4 separate regions of the Homo sapiens genome follow, and regions 2, 3 and 4 are each linked to region 1. The links are contacts of gene promoters, found by promoter capture Hi-C in human tissues and cell types (Jung and others, 2019). All regions are on one chromosome and are shown on one strand. Each heading gives the region's core, a stretch centred on a gene start or on the middle of the fragment in contact. The rest is flanking DNA. Distances are from core to core; before and after follow the strand shown. Region 1 holds the start of SRSF3 (serine and arginine rich splicing factor 3). Region 2 overlaps FKBP5 (FKBP prolyl isomerase 5). Region 3 overlaps CCDC167 (coiled-coil domain containing 167). Region 4 holds the start of CLPS (colipase).

Region 1 (4,476 bases), core at 743-3,242:
TAAATAACTAACTAAAAATAAACAAATATGTATTGCTTGACTGCTGTATCGTTTCCAAGCCCTGGGGATGCAGGTGTGACCACAATTGGCCAAAGTGACAAAACCTAACATCTGTAACGCTGCAAGCCTGGGGTTATTTTATACAGAGGAAATAGAGAGGTTAAACGTTCTTCTCAGGATGCTTCAGCCAGTAACTAGCAGTGGGGGCTGGGGCCAAATCCAGGACTGCCTGACTCCAGAGCCTTTGATTTGATAGAAGGAAAGAAAATGAAAAAGAGGAGAAAAGCTTACATAGAGGAGGGGAACAAATCAAGGCAAATATAAGTGAGCCAGAAAAAAAAATCTAGACGAGAGAGAAATAAGAAAAGGTTTGCTAGGATCCCCTTCTCCCCTTTTACAGGTGAGGAAACTAGGCTGAGATGTAATAAATCTGTATTTTTTTCCTCCACTACAGATAAACCTTTTAGAACCACAATAAGAGGTAAGGCTTCAAAAGAAAAATACCTGGGAAAGTTAAAACATATTAATTGGCTGGCCGGGTGCTGTGGCTCACGCCTGTAATACCAGCACTTTGGGAGGCCGAGGCGGGAGAATCGCCTGAGGTGGCGAGTTCGAGACCAGCCTGACCAGCATGGTGAAACCCCGTCTCTATTAAAAATACAAAAATTAGCCGGGTGTGGTGGCAGGTGCCTGTAATCCCAGCTACTCGGGAAGCTGAGGTAGGCGAATCGCTTGAACCCGGGAGGCGGAGTTTGCAGTGAGCCGAGGTCGCGCCATTGCACTCCAGCCTGGGCAACAGAACGAGACTCCATCTCAAGAAAAAAAAAAAAAGAAAAAAGAAAAAAAAAAACATAATAATTGGCATATCTTTCAGCTAAGAGGGAATAAATAAAAAGACAGGTTCTTTTTCTCTCTTTTTTTTTTTGTGCAGTGGTAGGATCTCAGCTCACGGCAACCTCCGCCTCCTGGGTTCAAGCGATTCTCCTGCTCTCAGCCTCCCAAGTAGCTGGGATTACAGGCGCCTGCCACCATGCCCGGCCATTTGTATTTTTAATAGAGACGGGATTTCACCATGTTGGCCAGGCTGGTCTTGAACTCCTGACCTCAAGTGATCCGCCTGCCTCGGCCTCCCAAAGTGCTGGGATTACAGGCATGAGCCACCGCGCCCGGCCCTTGGTGATTTTTCTAACCCAATCACAGTCTCTCTCCCCTTAATTACTCTTGCGGCTCTGTCTTCGTAAGGGAAGTGGCCCGGACAAAATACATGCCAGGCAGTGCAACGGCTGCTAGGAGAAAGGCTCGAGATACCCCTCCTGGCATTTGCTTGGGGGCCAGAATTTACATTCAATCTTCTTCAGAAACTTCCCTTTCCGGGTGTTTGCTAAAGGTGATAGTTTCCAGGTCACCTGACCGGTCTCCTTTGCTGTCGGCGCCAAGTCCTGCAAGTTTGCTTGAGAGACGAGAAACCAGCAAGAGTTGGGCAAACTTTCCAAACCAGGCTTTTCCTTCAGTGTGGAATCTAGGCGGCCACAGTCTGGTGCCAGCTGGGTCACAAACAGCTCCGTGACCTGTTTGTAAACGCGATGCTCTTAGTTCCAGACTAACCGCTCACAAGGGTGAAGCACTTAATTAATTCATCTCTTAATCTTGTTAGGGGCCAACGGCTCCTATTAGTGTTTGAGCGTGACGGCGACGGTGCTGTTTATGAAGCCCTAGCCTATTTGGAGGTGAGGAAGAGGAGTCTGTGGGTAACCTGGAGGTCGACAGACCGGGAGGAACGCTCGAGGGAGCACCAGGCCTGTTACAACGAGCGCGCGCCGACGCACGTCTCCACCCACCCGGCGCAACCGCCAGAGCGCGCTCCCAGCAACCGCGGCTCTCGCTGCGTTTGTAGCCATACGTCACGGCCTCTTCTGCTTCTCATTGGGGGAGCCCGTCCAATCATGTGATTCCAGTATGGCGTATAAATAAAGGCGAGGAGAAGGCGGTGGTCCGCCATTTCGTGGACGCCGGGTGAGTGAGAGAGTTGGTTGGTGTTGGGCCGGAGGAAAGCGGGAAGACTCATCGGAGCGTGTGGATTTGAGCCGCCGCATTTTTTAACCCTAGATCTCGGTAAGAGACCAGCGAAAGAGGGAATGAGGTGGAAATGGAATTTAACAGTACCAAGGAGCCAGGCCCAATGGCGGCGCCAGATTGAGACAAAGAGGCGCCGCCGCCATTTTGTGACGTTCAGCACGGGGCGGTGGCGGGGGCTCCCGGCCCATCGGAGGGTTTCCTAGTCTTGGAGTGGAAGTCTTTATATTCCTCATTGGGGCATGAGCCAGGATGGGGGTTACCTGGGAGTTGGGAACCACAAAGGGGAGCCGATAGCCGAGTTGTATTCCAGGTCACGGCCTTTTTATTTTTATGGCGCCTTTTTTTTTTTTGGCCCCTCATTTAATTGGGAAGCTTCTCAGAATGTTTTTGTAAAGTCACTAACCAAGACCGGACCTTTCAGTTCATATTAAATGGCCCCCGTAGTCACCTTACTTTCATGTAGTTTCAGATTTTGCAGCCTGAATCTAATCACCTTTTTCTAAGACCGAAAGATCTTCCTTGAACTTAAGATTCGTTCTTTCATCGCTTCCCATTAAAATGGAGGCTTAAGACAGGTGCCAGCAGTGTTTTTAAAAATTTTCACCAGTGGTTTGGTCTTAGAACTTACTCCTGGGCACAGGGTGTGGTCACGGCAAATAGGATGTGTCTGGACTGGATATTTTAATTAGACAAGCCCAGAGTAAGAAGAACGTGGTGTTTATGGAAAGCACTTCAGCTGAATTATTGAGTAGATGGTTTTTATGTAATTGAAACTGGTCTACAAGTTTATCAGATTCATCGTCGAAGTGACTCAGTAATAAAGCTTTATCAAATACAAGTCCGCCAAGGAAGAACAAAAAAATAAGTCCCCAAAGTGCAGTAAATTTTTTAGTAGCAAATATCTCTTTGTAATTTTTTATTAAAGTGAAATTATCTTTAAGTGGTATTTAGTATATTCAGTGTTGTGTAATCATCACTTACACGTAGTTCCAAAACATTTCCGTCACCTCCCCCCGCAGGAGACTACTACCCATTGAGCACTTACTCCCAGATTCCCTGTCCCCCTTCCTCTAGTCCCTAGCAACCACTAATCTTCCTGTCTCTCTGAACTTAGCTATTTTAGATATTTAGTATTTATGGAATCGTGTACTTTTATGTCTGGCTTCTTTAACTTAGCGTAATGTTTTCAAGATTTTCCAACGTTGGAGGATTTGTCAGTACATCATTCTGAATAATACTCATTTTATGTCTATACCACATTTTGCTTATCCGTTTCTGTTGATGGACATTTGGGTTAACATCTTTGGGCTACTGTGAATAAGTGCTACTATGAGTTTACATTTTTTAAAAAACTGTAAAGTTGGTCTCGTTGCTTGATAAATTTTTACCGCGTAAGACTCTGGTCTATCTAATGACATTTGATACTAGCCTTGTTCCTATAGTTCCAAATGACCAAAATAGGCATTTATTTATTTATTTATTTGTGGTTTTTTTTTGGCGATGGAATCTCGCTCTGTCGCCGAGGCTGGAGTGCAGTGGCGCGATCTCGGCTCACTGCCACCTCCGCCTCGCGGGTTCAAGCGATTGTTCTGCCTCAGCCTCCCGAGTAGCTGGGACTACAGGTGTGCGCCACCATGCCCGGCTAATTTTTGTATTTTTAGTTGTGACGGGGTTTCACCATATTGGCCAGGCTGGGTCGAACTCCTGACCTCGTGATTCGCCCGCCTCGGCTTCCCAAAAGTTCTGGGATTGCAGGTGTGAGCCGCCGCGCCCGGTCCATGGGCATTTTTTTAAAAGTGAAAATCGTTGGCCTTATTTTTATTAAAGCTGGTAAGTTTTGGCTTATGTAGGTACTTTGAATCGCTTGCCTGGTAGTATAACCTTAAGGACTAGCTTTCTTCATCATTGTTTTATTTAGTTTTGAGTCCCCAACAGAATTCTCTTCTGTTTTTCTAGAAATGCTTTATTTTGGGGATTAAATGAAATAACAGGTTAAGTCTCTTAACTCACGGCCCAGATGGTGGTAAATGCTCCTCCAGTTGTTCTCAACGTTCCAAGGAAGCTGTTTTTTTCTTCACTAATTGCTGGCTTCCTGAGGGTTAGGAGTAAAGATAATGGGGCGGGGTGGCGGGGGGGGGGAAATGGGTGCTTAGCAGTAACATTTCTTGTTTGGTTTCTAGCATTTTTGTAATTTTTTTTTCTTTACGTGCTACCTTAAACTCTCTTGTCCTCTCTAATGGAGTTCTTTCTAAGGATCTGTGGTTTTAACTGTAGATGTTTAGATGAATGAATATTTTTGGTATTTTTCATTACAGAAATGCATCGTGATTCCTGTCCATTGGACTGTAAGGTTTATGTAGGCAATCTTGGAAACAATGGCAACAAGACGGAATTGGAACG
Region 2 (4,476 bases), core at 838-3,337, 990 kb before region 1:
TGAGCAAGAGTTTTCTCTGTTGCCTAATTCATGCCAAGTGAGCTTCTTTCTGCCTGTGTCTCCTGCCTAATAGAGCACAGTATCCAAGAGAGTAGGATCTTAATAACCCCCTGAAAAAGCAAGCAGAGATGGCTTTCTAAAAGCAGGAGAACAAGAGAAATACTTCCAACACGCATGGTGGTCAGATTTCCCCTAAGCTGTCCGCCTTCCTCCTCTGCACTGTTTTGTACTACTTAGGATGAACACACACCACTGTAAGATTGCTTACAGAACTGACGGACAGATGCTAACAGGCGTGGAACCTGGCTCCTGGAACTGAATAACATTTATGCAAATGATTTCTTTTGGTTGATCAAGTTTGAATGTTTTCAAAACAGGAAATCTAAACAAGAAGTATACACCCAGCAACAAATTCTCCATGAACACCAACCCTTACCAGTCTTCCCTTCACACCACTATAGCACTTGAGTTAGACCTGGATTCCAGTCCCATTCTGCCACTTCAATTATGACTTTGGGCAAGGTAATTAAAGTGATCTGAAGCTCAGTTTCTTCACTGATAGAATGTGGATAATACACTAGCTAAATGATAATTGTTGAGAGGATTAAATTAGATACTGAATTAGAGCTTTTAATCTAGCACCTGATATTCATTCATTCATTCATTCATATGTCAGGGTGTCTATCATGTGAAAATGCTGTTGTTAAGTGTGGATATACAGAGACAAACTAAAGGAATGTTAGCTATAATTATTTTCCTGTGCCTAGTGGTAAATTATACCAGATTAAACATGTTTTAGAGCTCTGTGTAAGAAAACATTTACTGGTTCAACACAGAAAGCTGTCAAAGTATGAATAAAATTCTTAGTAGGCAAAGGCAGTATCTTGTACTTCTTTTGTGCCTCACAGTACCCAGCACAGAGTTCAGGGCCAGCAAGTAAATATTTATTTAATGACTAATCTTAAAATAGGGCATTAAGGACAGGGTGGTAATTTTCACTAATTTATACAAATTTTCCTTTTTGAATCTATTAGTATTCCTATTTTAATAAATTCTAGGAAGCTATACAAATTTTATATTGATATGGAAACTTTGTTTTTTAATACTATTCTAAAATAAATGGCCAATTGGCTGGAATTTTTTTTTTTTTTGTAACAACAACAACAGCAGCAGCAGCAACAAAAGACTGTTTTCTTTCTTTTTTTGAGACAGAGTCTCGTTCTGTTGCCCAGGCTGGAGTGTAGTGGCGTGATCTTGCCTCACTACAACCTTCACTTACTGCAACCATCTGCCTCCCGAGTTCAAGGACTTCTTGTGCCTCAGACTCCCAAGTAGCTGGGACTACAGGCCCGCACCACCATGCCCAGCTAATTTTTGTGTTTTTAGTAGAGATGGGGTTTCGCCATGTTGGCCAGGCTGGTCTTGAACTCCCGACCTCAAGTGATCCTCCAGCCTTGGCCTCCCAGAGTGCTGGGATTACAGGTGTGAGCCACCGTGCCCGGCCTCTTTATTGTTTTTGTTTTGAGTTGGGGGTCTCACTTTGTTGCCCAGCCTGGAGTGCAGTGGTGTGATCATGGCTCACTGCAGCCTCACACTCCTGGACTCAAGCTACTCTCCTTCCTCAGCCTCCCTAGTAGCTGGGACTACAGGCACACACCACCACGCCTGGCTATTTTGTTGTTGTTGTTGTTAAGAATGGGGTCTCACCATGTTGCCAGGCTGGTCTTGTACTCCTGGCCTCAAGCAACCCTCCCACCTTGGCTTCCCGAAGTGTTGGGATTACAAGCGTGAGCCACCATGGCTGGCCAGAAAGACTTATTTTCTACTATGATTTTATTCTACCTGAAGACTTGAAGATAACTTTTTGGAAGAAAGAAATTATATAAATCCAAAATATTTGAAAGAATAAACACTGGCCACTTTAGACCAAGTACCATATTACATTATTTTGTGAAAACATATAATAAAATGGTTTCAAGAATTTGCTCCTATTCCTAGACTTATATCCCAGGACATTCATAAATACTTCAAAAGCATATGAAAAACAAAAATGTAAAGTCTCACAGCTCCATCAGATCTCAATATGGGCAGACGTAATCTTTCCTCTATTTTCAATTTTTGGTACCTTTTTGATTTTAGTGTTTCATTTATAAAGAACACATAGCTAGATACTGTTGTTGTTCTCACTTTATGAGACCTTTTGCCTTTAATAGGTGACTTTATCCCATTCATATTTTTTGTAATCACTGATATGAGTGGTTTTATTCTTGTCTTTGGTTTTCTACACAGTGTTTTCTTTTTTTTTTTGAGATGGAGTCTCGCTCTGTTGCCCAGGCTGGAGTGCAGTGGTGTGATCTCGGCTCACTACAACCTCCACCTCCCGGGTTCACGCCATTCTCCTGCCTCCCAAGTAGCTGGGACTACAGGCGCCCGCCACCATGCCCAGCTAATTTTTTGTATTTTTAGTAGAGATGGGGTTTCACCATGTTAGCCAGGATGGTCTCGATTCCTGACCTCGTGATCCACGTGCCTCGGCCTCCCAAAGTGCTGGGATTACAGGCGTGAGCCACCGTGCCCGGCCCGTGTTTTCTTATTTTTTAAAACAATTTTTGCTCAATTGATGAAGTTTTCCTTGTTCCTCTATTTCCCCACTCCACATGGGGTGATTTGGAAATTCTACATGCTATTCTTACTAGTACTTTCCATTAAAGTCTGAACAAATCATTTAAAGATATATATATATACCTCTTTATCAATGTTCAGAATCAATCAGCATAAAGCATTCAATAAAATCCAACATCCCTTCATTATAAAAAACCCTCAATAAACTAAGCATCAAAGGAACATACTTCAAAATAATAAGAGCCACCTATGACAATATCTTTTTTTTTTTTTTTTTTTTTTTTTTTTTTGAGACAAGGTCTTATTCCATTGCCCAGGCTGGAGTGCAGTGGTGCAACCATAACTCACCGAAGCCTGTATCACCCAGGCTCAAGTGATCCTCCTGCATCAGCCTCCCAAGTAAGCTGGGACTACAGGTGCATGCCACTATGTGTGGCTAATTTTTTTTATTTTTAGTAGAGACAAGGTTTCACTATGCTGCCCAGGCTGGTCTTGAACTCCTAGGCTCATGCAATCCTCCTGCCTCGGCCTTCCAAAGTCTTGGGATTACAGGTGTGAACCACTGCACCCAGCCGTCAATATCATACTGAACGGGCAAAAGTTGGAAGCATTCCGCCTAAGAACTGGAAAAAAACAGGGTGTCCACTCTTAACAACTCCTATTCAGCATGGTACTGAGCCACAGCAATCAGTATGCGGCAAGTCCTAGCCTGAGCAATCAGGCAAGAGAAAGAAATAAAAGGCATCCAAATAGGAAACCAGACGTCTACCTCTCACCATATACAAAAACAAACTCAAGATGGATTAAAGGCTTAAATGTAAGGCCTGAAACTATATAAATCCTAGAAGAAAAGCTAGAAAATACTCTTCTGGACATTGCCTAGGCAAATAATTTATGATTAAGTCCCCAAAATCAAATGCAACAAAAAGAAAAACTGACAGTTGGGACCTAATTAAAGAGCTTCAGCACAGCAAAATAAGCTATCAACGAAGCAGATGGACAAACTACAGAATGGGAGAAAACATTTGCAAATTATGCATCTGACAAAGGACTAATATCCAGAAAAGAACTTAAACAAATCAACAAGAAAAAAGCAAATAGCCCCATTAAAAAGTAGGCAAAGGACACGAAGAAGCAGCCAACGAACATGAAAAAATGCCGAACATCACTAATCATCAGAGAAATGCAAATCAAAACCACAATGAGATACCATCTCACAACTGAGTCAGAATGACTATTAATAAAAAGTCAAGGCCGGGCGCTGTGACTCATGCCTTTAATCCCAGCACTTTGGGAGGCCGAGGCAGGCAGATCATGAGGTCAGGAGATCGAGACCATCCTGTCTAACACGGTGAAACCCCGTCTCCACTAAAAATATTTTAAAAAATTAGCCGGGCGTGGTGGTGGGCGCCTGTAGTCCCAGCTACTCGGGAGGCTGAGGCAGGAGAATGGCGTGAACCTGGGAGGCGGGAGTTGCAGTGAGCCAAGATCGCGCCACTGCACTCCAGCCTGGGCAACAGAATGAGACTCCGTCTCAAAAAAAAAAAAAAAAAAAAAAAAAAAAAAAAAAAAAGTCAAAAAAGAACAGATGTTGGCAAGGTTGTGGAGAAAAGGGAATGCTTAAACAGTGTTGATGAGAATGGAAATTAGTTCAGCTCCTGTGGAAAGCAGTTTTGGAAATTTCTCGAAGAACTAAAAATCAAAGTACCATTTGACCCAGCAATCCCATTACTGGGTATACAACCAAAGGAAAATAAATCGTTCTATCAGAAAGATAGCTGGCATTTACACTGACATGTTTACTGCAGCATTGTTTGTGTGTTTGTTTGTTTTTTGAGACAGAGTCTCACTCTG
Region 3 (4,476 bases), core at 1,382-3,881, 900 kb after region 1:
CAAACCCCAAGGGGCCCATTATCCCCACATCGTTTAAGGGATGTTTTTCTGTGGAGGCGGCTCACAGAGCTCTGTGGGGGCAGAAAAACCTCCGCCCATGGCTCCCCACATCAACAGGCCCTGTAAGGATTTCTCTCGCAGGTTGTGCAGCTGAAGACGGCAGACCTTCCCAGTTTTTAATCAATGAACAATTTTCAGGAAGAGCAGGGAGAGCCTAGGGGCTTGTCGCTCGCCTGGACACACCCCCATGCCAGGTCAGAAAGGCGAGGGAACCGCTGCAGCCCACGCGAGTCCCGACGCCTTCCCGCGAGGAGACGGAGGCCGAGCCAGCCTTGCAAGTTAGCGCCCGAGCCAGTCCGCGCCCGAAGATGCCAGCTGTCCCTGGGCCGGAAGGTGGTGTGGGGTTTGTTTTGTCTTCTTTCCCCCCGATATCTATTTTTTGATAAACTAGCAAAAGCTTGTTCATCGCTGAAAGGCTCAAAGCACTTTTCAAGAACTGGCATCCACCCCGAGCCTTATGAATTCATTAATTAAGATGCTGGCAGACAGCCACTCCACACACGCCGCCATCCAGCCGCGCTAGGTAATGAGGTTTTAGTCTCCTGACCCCCGTCAAGTGGCGCAGAGCCAGATGTAGGCTGCCGCGAGAAATCACCTGCCCAATGGCGACCTGTCGCTCTCGCCTGGCAGCAGGTGAGGCTCATTTAATGGTCAGCGGCCCCTGAACAGTCCTCTGCGTGCTGCGAGCCTTTCTCCCAGCCCCTGGCTTGGGGTTCAGGGTCCCAGCAAGGTGGCGTCTAACCGCCTGCTCTACTGTGACCTCCACTCAACTGGGCCCAGACGTCAGGGTGGAAGGTTCAATGCCTCCTCCTGCCAATCGAGCCAGTTCAGCAAATATTTATTGACAGTCCACTCACCTGCTCCTAGCCCTTGTCTCAGGAAAGTGGGAGGTTCCCCTGAGCCCTGTGCACAGCCTGCTCCAGAGCGGAGACCGTCTTCAGCCACACTTGGTGCTTCTGCCTGCCCTGCCCCACGGAGGCTACTGCAGTGGCTGGCACCATACAAATAACCACAAGCGTCAAGCCTTCCGGTGCTCTTCCTGGCCTAGGCCATTCTCTCCCCTCAGCCTACCACTTCTCATGGTCAGTGATCCTGCCTTTTTTTTTTTTTTTTTTTTTTTTTTGAGACGAAGTTTCCCTCTTGTTGCCCAGGCTAGAGTGCGATGGCACCATCTCGGCTCACCGCAACCTCCACCTCCCAGGTTCAAGCGATTCTCCTGCCTCAGCCTCCCGAGTAGCTGGGATTACAGGCATGTACCCCCATGCCTGGCTAATTTTGTATTTTTAGTAGATGGGGTTTCTCCACGTTGGTCAGGCTGGTCTCGAACTCGTGACCTCAGGTGATCCGCCCGCCTGGGCCTCCCAAAGTGTTGGGATTACAGGCGTGAGCCACCGCACCCAGCCGATCCTGCCCTCTTTTTCTGGTAAGGATTCCAGTGAATTTTCAATGACTCCCATTAGCATTTATTCCTTACAGCAGATACTGTCAACTGGCCAACACAACACCGACTCCCCACCCCTGCTCCTTTGCCCACCTCTACTCCAGAAGGTGGAAAAGCTCAGCAGATGCTCTCCCAACCTCACTGCAGCTAGGCTTGCTCATGACCCAGTTCTGGCCAATGAGACGTTCCAGAAGTCAGCTAGGAGACTCCTGGGGAAGCTTATGCTTTGTTGATAAAAGGGACAGTGTTGTTCCTTCCTCCTCCTTCCTGAGTTAAAGTTGAATATTAGACTGGAGCTGTGGCAGCTATATTGTGACCATGAGGAAACAGTGAAGAGAATGCAGAAATACCAACTCTGACATAGCTAAGCTTTTGAACCAATGCCAGTAGCCACCTACCTACAAATTTTTTTTTTTTTTTTGAGACGGGGTCTCTGTTGCCCAGACTGGAGTGCAGTGGCACGATCTTGGCTCACTGCAACCTCCACCTCCTGGGTTCAAGCAATTCTCCTGCCTCAGCCTCCCGAGTAGCTGGGATTACAGGCGTGTACCACCACTCCTGGCTAATTTTTGTATTTTTAGTAGAGATGGTGTTTCACCATGTTGGTCAGGCTGGTCTCGAACTCCTGACCTCAAATGATGCACCTGCCTCAGCCTCCCAAAATACTGGGATTACAGGCGTGAGCCACTGCACCTGGCCCCTACAAATTTCTATAAGGGGAAAAGTCTACTCCCATTTGCTTAAATCATTGAGGTCAGTTTTCTATAACTTGTAGCCAAAAGCTTTCCAAACTGATAAACTTTCTGTACTAGGGGTCAGATCCAACCAAGTTATCCACTTTAGGATACCGGCTAAGACACCACACATCTGTTAACTCAAGACCAACTGGTCACTGAAACATCTAAAGACACCAGTTTGAACAGTCCAGCTACAAAAGAAAAGTGCAATGACAAAGGAACAGCTCATTACCATCAGAGATCCGAAAACACAAACAGGTTTTACATCAGTCAAAATTCTCCTATCAGTTTAGACTGAAATTCAACCTTTCCTTCCTCCCACACAACATTAAAATCAGTACTGGGTGGGTGATTTCTCATTTGAACTATAATTTTCTTTTCTTATTAAGAATGAAATCTCAGAAGCTAAAACTCACAGTTTTTTCCAACTCTGAGATCTCATATGGTGGCAAATGAATTGGATAAAAAGACCTCAAAAGGAACCACTTTGAGGGGGAGGCTAGAGGGTGCCCTGGTTGTCCTAAGAGGTGGCTGCTTATACAGCTGGCCCAAGCCAGCCCTAAGGGTGAGTGCTGCCTGCTTGGTAATTGCTTCATTACAAGTGGAGACTGTTTGCAGGTGCTGAGATCACTCACTTGTGGGGGTTTTATTGCACTCGTCAGATTAACAAACATTTTTGATTAAATCACCACTTCATTGGCTCTGAGCACACAACTTTTAATAAGAGGACAATATCTACTGCTACTGAGCATCAGTGCACATTCAATACTCAGACCCGCTGGGGGCAACTGAGAAGCAAGGTGGGGAGACAGCCAGCCAGATGTCAGGCTTTTTCCAAGGCACACGGTTACAGATGTCAAATCTTCGAATATCCAAGCAAAAAGTAAACTTAGGGACCAAGATAGCAAATATAAACATCTACCGTGGTATGGAGAGGGTAAAACAATGGAATCTGCCCCAGTATAAGGCACTTGGAGAATACATGCCCCACCAAGTTTAAAAACGTAAAAATCCGGCCGAGTGTGGTGGCTCACGCCTGTAATCCCAGCACTTTGGGAGGCCGAGGCGGGCGGATCACTTGAGGTCAGGAGTTCAAGACCAGCTGGCCAACATGGTGAAACCCCGTCTCTACTAAAAATACAAAACTTAGCTGGGCATGGTGGTGCACGCCTGTAGTCTCAGCTTCTCGGGAGGCTAAGGCACGAGAATTGCTTGAACCCGGGAGGCTGGAGGCTGCAGTGAGCTGAGATCATGCCGCTGCACTACAGCCTGGGCAACAGAGCAAGACCCTGTCTAAAAATAAAATAAAATAAAATAAAAACTTAAAAGTCTGTCAGCCAAACAGAAGACATCTGTGATCTGTATTTGGGCCATAGTCAAGGAGTTTGTAACCCCTGGTGAAATTCAAGTCCTTCATGTTATAGATGAGTGAACGAATGCCCAAGAACGAGTTTGACTTAGCCATGGTGGAAGGATGCAAAAGAAATACAAAGGCTGGAGCTACCATGTATTGATTACCAATCCGGTGCCAGGCACGTGCTGGGCACTTAACGCAATGTCTCATTTAATCCTCACAACCACACTGTGAGGTGAGGTGCCATCTGTAGTGAGACTACAGGCTGTCTGTGAAAACACACTGGTCTCTTCCTCCATAGTAAGCAAACAGTAGCTGGCTATGTGGCCTCCTGACTGGTGAACGCATTTCCCTGATCCCTTGCAGTCAGGTGGGGTTTTAGTTCTTGCCAATGGAAAGTGGACAGTTTGGGCCCAGGACAGTGGGTGTGCTTCCTCCATTCTCCTCTTTCTCTGCCGGTGGACACATCAGTGGGGTATGCCCCGGTTCCACTGATAAGGTGACAAGATCTCAAGAGATGGTGAAGCCACAGAGGAAGGGAATCTGGCAGAACCACCATAGACCTGGTACTCTAGACCAGGAGTTGGCAACTAAGCCCTGTGGCCAAATGGTCTAAGGACTGTTCTTGCAGATAAAGCTTTAGTGGAACACTGACACACCCACTTATTTACATATTCCTTCATTTACATACTCCTACCTTAGCCTGAATACAGTTGGTTCTTGTTGTTCCTGGTAGCTATGTCCTATAAAGTTGCCTCTAATATTGAATTAGCAAATACCAAACCAGGTGAGGTTCCTGCAAGCCTATGGACACAACATTTTTGCAACCTTGTTTCATGTGTGATTCTGTTTAAAGTGACCTTATTCAATATATATTGTTGATT
Region 4 (4,476 bases), core at 1,451-3,950, 800 kb before region 1:
GGTGACGAACATGGGCCATTAAAACTCCTTACCCACAAGTGTGTGTGTGTGTGTGTGTGTGTGTGTGTGTGTATGTGCGCGCGCATGCACATGTGCCCGCTTGTCTCTTTGAGAACCGGAGGGACAAGGAGGGCATCCCAGGTAGGTGTGACTTCTCCCCAGAAATGGAGGGTTTCCTAGGCTGGCTGGGTCTCCTTCACAGCTTTGTCTTCAGTCTCCAATCTGTTTGGCCACAACTTCTTCAGCCCCAGACCCATCCCTTGTTCTTCTGACCTGCCTGAAGCCTGCCCTGGTGGACCAAAGGCCTGATGCAACTTCAGAGAAGATGCTGAGTCAGAAAGAATATGCAGGAGACTGGGAAAGGTTTGCAGGAGGCCTTTAATTGTGAAGAGCGCAATCAGAAAACAGATATGCTGGTCAAGGAGGTGGCCAGCCCGGGAGATGCGCTGGAGCAGGGGAGAGATGCCCCTGCGCCTAGTGGCCTACAGCATTCTGGGCTAGGTGTGGGAGTGGGTGGGCAGTCTCACTGCTTGGAGCGTCCAGCGTCATGGCAGATGCCAAAGTTGGTGTTGGTGATGGAGCCCACGATGGTCTTGTCTCCCTCACAGGTCAGGCCACGCTCACAGGGACACTTGTAGTAAATCCCATAGAGCGTCTGCAGAGACACAGCCAATGGAGTCAAGGCTATGGGGAGATACTTTGGACATCACTTGTCCCCTGCCTGACCTAGAGAACCAGTAGGCCAGCCTGTGTTTTCGGGGAGTGCCTCTCCCACCTGCCTCCCCAGGGGTGCCGTGGGCCCTGGAGACCCCAGCTCTGACCTCTGCTCTGGCTCATTTGCTCTTACTAGCTTGATCTCTCTGGGGAGCCTCTATTTACCCAGCCATGAAATGGGGATAACAAATCCCCACCCCCACCCATCTCACTGGTCACTCGGGAGGGTCAAGAGAGATGATGGGATGGGAAAGTGCTTTGACACCTGTCGACCTCCCTCTCGTCTCCTCAACATTCAGTGTCCAGGCTGACCCCCCTCCCTGATCCCACTCACAAGTGTTCAGGGCCCTACTCCCCATTCTCCCCCACCCACGCCAAGTCCTCAGGCACCCACCTTGACAGAGCACTCGCTGTTCTCGCTGGCCATGGATGTGCAGCGGGCCAGGCCCAGCGCACTTGAATGCTGGCAGCAATTGCTCTTACACTGGGCACTATTCATGCAGAGCTCACCGTTCTCCTGCCAGGAGCAGCCAGTCAGCCCAGGCCCCACTCCCTCAGGTCCCTTCTCCATTCAGACCTGTACCCACCACACACTACCACTAACAGTGTCTCCCCTGGTAGGGATGTGTGTGAAGGAGTCCATCCCCTGGGTCTGGTGGCCTCTGTGCCCCCCACCCACGTGAGAAGTGGGCATGCGGTGACAGAGAAGCAGACTTGCACAGAGGGTCAGGACCCCTGGGTTCTAGTACCGGCTGTGCTACCAACCTCCTGTGTGACTCTGGGCAAGTCACTGCCTCCCAAGCCTCAGTGTTCCCATTTGGAATGTGCACACAAGGCCCCTAGACAAGTTCTCCAAACCACTCTGGGTCCCACACCTCTTTAAGGAGGCGGTGAAGATTGCATCTCCCTGCAAGACTCCTTCCTCCCCCAACAGATCTGATCTATAATCTCCAAGGGTCCTGGACCTCCAAGTCCAGCCATGGCCCCAAGTTAAGAGAGTTCAGAACCTTTCAACCGCATGGACGTTCTGGAAGGGCTTTCCCAGCCAAGACCCATGGTGGAGAGGTGGTGTGGGGCAGTGGTGGGGCCCCAGCTGAACCACTTTCCAGCTATGTGACCTCAGGCAGGTTGCTCACCCTCTCTCTGTCTGAAGACAGGGCTGACTCTGAAAACACCTCCCTCAGTGGTTATTATGAGAACAGAATGAGTAAACATCTCCGAGGCATCTCCATAAGTCAGAAGCTGGAATGATTGGCGCAAAGCATTTTCTCAGGATGGAAGCCCAGGGCTCTGGATTTTTACAAAGCTCCCTCGTAGGGCCAGGTGAGGTGGCTCATGCCTGTAATCCCAGCACTTTGGGAGGCCGAGGTGGGCGGATCACGAGGTCAGGAGTTTGAGACTAGCCTGGGCAACATGGTGAAACCCTATTTCTACTAAAAATACAAAAAATAGCTGAGCGTTATGGCAGGCACCTGTAATCCCAGCTTCTTGGGAGGCTGAGGCAGGAGAATCATTTGAACCCGGGAAGCAGAGATTGCAGTGAGCCGAGATTGTGCCACTACACTCCAGCCTGGTGACAGAGCAAGACTCCGTTTCAAAAAGAAAAAAAAGAAAAAAAAGGTCCCTCATAGCCAGGTTGAGCTGCTGCTCTGAGCATGCTCCAGTTGGAGCTGGAGAGGGGCTGATCAGCCTTTCCTGTGGCCTCTGGGAAGAGGCATAGGACAGGACATGGAAGTAAACAGAGGGATGCAAGATGCCACTCCTCCCAGCCCCTGCCAGTCCAGGTGGAGACATCAGAGGTCAAGGTCCAAGCTTAGGAAGTCTTCATCTGGGGACTCAGGAGGCGCCTCCCCTGAAGACCCTCTTACCAGGTTGATAATGATCCCCCGGGGGCCAGGAGCTGCATAGGCCACAGAGAGGGCGACAAGCAGGAGGATCAGGATCTTCTCCATGGTGAGTGGGACAGCTGGTGTGGGTGGCGGGAGACAGAGCCAGCTGTGGTGATGGGGCTATAAAAGGGGCCCTGACCTCACGAGATCCACCTGCATCCCACAGGGCTGGCCGTGGGCAGAGGCACAGCTGTGGCCAATCTGCTGTGGGGCGGTTCCTGATAAGGAAACTGGGTGAGTACCTGGTGGCCTTTTTCGTGTGTGTGTGTGTGTGTGTGTGTGTGTGTGTGTGTGTGTTGGTGATAATTGTGTTGCATCGTGGTTAAGAGTATGGACTGTGTACAAGTTATTAGTGAGGCAAACTTACTATCTGTTCCAACTATTCTGCCTTTCATCTTATCTGTCAACTAAGGATAATTTAAAGAGTTGTGAGGGTTGAATTAATACACATTTATGTGTTACATATATATAAACATTATTATATACAATTATAAGAATATATTTATATTGTATATTCCCATATGCCACATAAGCAGTGGGTAAGGGTGGCTGCCCTTGTGTCTTGAGCTCCTGGGCAGTGCCTGGACGAATCCAAGGCAAGAGAGGCACCTATGGTGTGAGTGCCTGCTTACATTCTGTGTACTTGGGGCCTCTCTGCCTCACTATAGTCAGGCCTTGCCTTTGGCCCACCCAAGCCCAGGTGTCTAGCAGTGTCAGACTCCAGGGACGAGGATCCTAGCCTCCCACCCCTCAACCTTCCTTCAGTCTCCTCGGGGGATTCCAGGCCATGCCCAGATCCCTGGGGCTGACAGTTCTGCAACCCCCAGCAGGCCAGGGTGTGTGTGCTTTCACTTTGGCACCCTCCCCCTGCCCTCACACCAGGGGCTGCCTGCAGGCCTGACTCAAGGGCCCTTAGGAGGCCCTTCCTAAATGCCTCTCTCCCCTTTCCTTTCTACCTCACTTACTATCTGCAATTCCAGCATCAGATACTCACCCCTTTAGTTAAGGTTTCCACTCACGCTGCCCCCTACCCAAGGCCACGTGCGCGCGTGAGCAGTCGCTAGTCCTGGCTGAGAATGAAGAGGTCTCATGAGCCTCAGATGGAGCAGGGGCCTCAGGAAGCTGGGAAGGGCACAGCTGCCTGAGTTTGCTCAGGCATGGGAACAGAGCAGCTTTTCCTGAAGGACTAGTCATGGCAGCCAGAGGCCCCTGCCCTTCCCCTCTCCATCCCAGGAGGTAGAAGACAGCTCCACTGAGAGGCCCAGGCCTCAAGCACAGCTTTTAATTTAATTTAATTTAATTTTTTGAGACAAGGTCTCACTCTGTCACCTAGGCCGAAGTGCAGTTGTGCCATCTTGGCTCACTGCAGCCTCCACCTCCTGAGATCAAGCAATCTTCCCCCTAAGCCTCCCAGGTCTAAAACTCGTGGGCTCAAGCAATCTTCCCACCTCGGCCTCCTAAAGTGTTGGGATTACAGGTGTGAGCCACTGTGCCCAGCCTCAAGCACAGCTTTGATCCAGACCAAGCTGGCTTCAAAATTCAGCATTTACTGGAGCTACGTGGCCTCAGACACATTATTGAAAGTGAAGCTCCCTGAACCTCACTTTCCTTATTTATCTTAGGGGGATAACGCCTCCTACTTCCTGAGGTCATGATTAAGACAATGCACGTGGAACACCTTCGGAAGTGCCTGGCACATGGTGGGTGCCCAGCCATGTAATATGACCCCCTTCCTCTCACCTTTACATCCCTGGGGTGTGGAATGTAGAGAAATAGCTGGAGGAACAACCAGGAGACTCTCAAAATGAGAAAAACCAATTTGGTTCCAGCGATGCAGAAATACCATTGATGAAAGAACACTATCCCCCCTCTC

What was found. The method cuts DNA at HindIII sites, captures the fragments that hold promoters and counts their contacts. A contact is called where the count stands out against the background at its distance.
Region 2: a contact is called between a fragment that was not itself captured here and the fragment with the promoter of SRSF3 in region 1, in 1 of the 25 tissues and cell types used here (hippocampus).
Region 3: a contact is called between a fragment that was not itself captured here and the fragment with the promoter of SRSF3 in region 1, in 1 of the 25 tissues and cell types used here (psoas muscle).
Region 4: the fragment with the promoter of CLPS here is called in contact with the fragment with the promoter of SRSF3 in region 1 in 1 of the 25 tissues and cell types used here (pancreas).

What each region holds. Positions count from the first base shown.
Region 1 is chr6:36,592,370-36,596,845 of GRCh38, forward strand. It overlaps SRSF3 (serine and arginine rich splicing factor 3), which reads left to right and starts at 1,993. Exons shown (of 6, transcript NM_003017.5): 1 at 1,993-2,112; 2 at 4,392-4,476. The coding sequence starts at 4,394. RefSeq lists enhancers at 1,501-1,660, 1,769-2,450, 2,051-2,280, 4,296-4,476. The HindIII fragment of the contact is 3,355 bases long and covers 1-2,673 here.
Region 2 is chr6:35,602,502-35,606,977 of GRCh38, forward strand. The region is part of intron 5 of FKBP5 (FKBP prolyl isomerase 5); the gene reads right to left. Among named protein-coding and RNA genes, the nearest start is that of MIR5690, 60 kb to the right of the region's middle. RefSeq lists a silencer at 1-165. The HindIII fragment of the contact is 9,658 bases long and covers 1-4,476 here.
Region 3 is chr6:37,492,900-37,497,375 of GRCh38, forward strand. All of the region lies in intron 1 of CCDC167 (coiled-coil domain containing 167), which reads right to left. Among named protein-coding and RNA genes, the nearest start is that of CCDC167, 4.8 kb to the right of the region's middle. The HindIII fragment of the contact is 5,400 bases long and covers 1-4,476 here.
Region 4 is chr6:35,794,623-35,799,098 of GRCh38, forward strand. CLPS (colipase) reads right to left here and starts at 2,701. Exons shown (of 3, transcript NM_001832.4): 1 at 2,583-2,701; 2 at 1,109-1,231; 3 at 360-655. The coding sequence starts at 2,666. The coding sequence ends at 524. The HindIII fragment of the contact is 7,222 bases long and covers 1-3,621 here.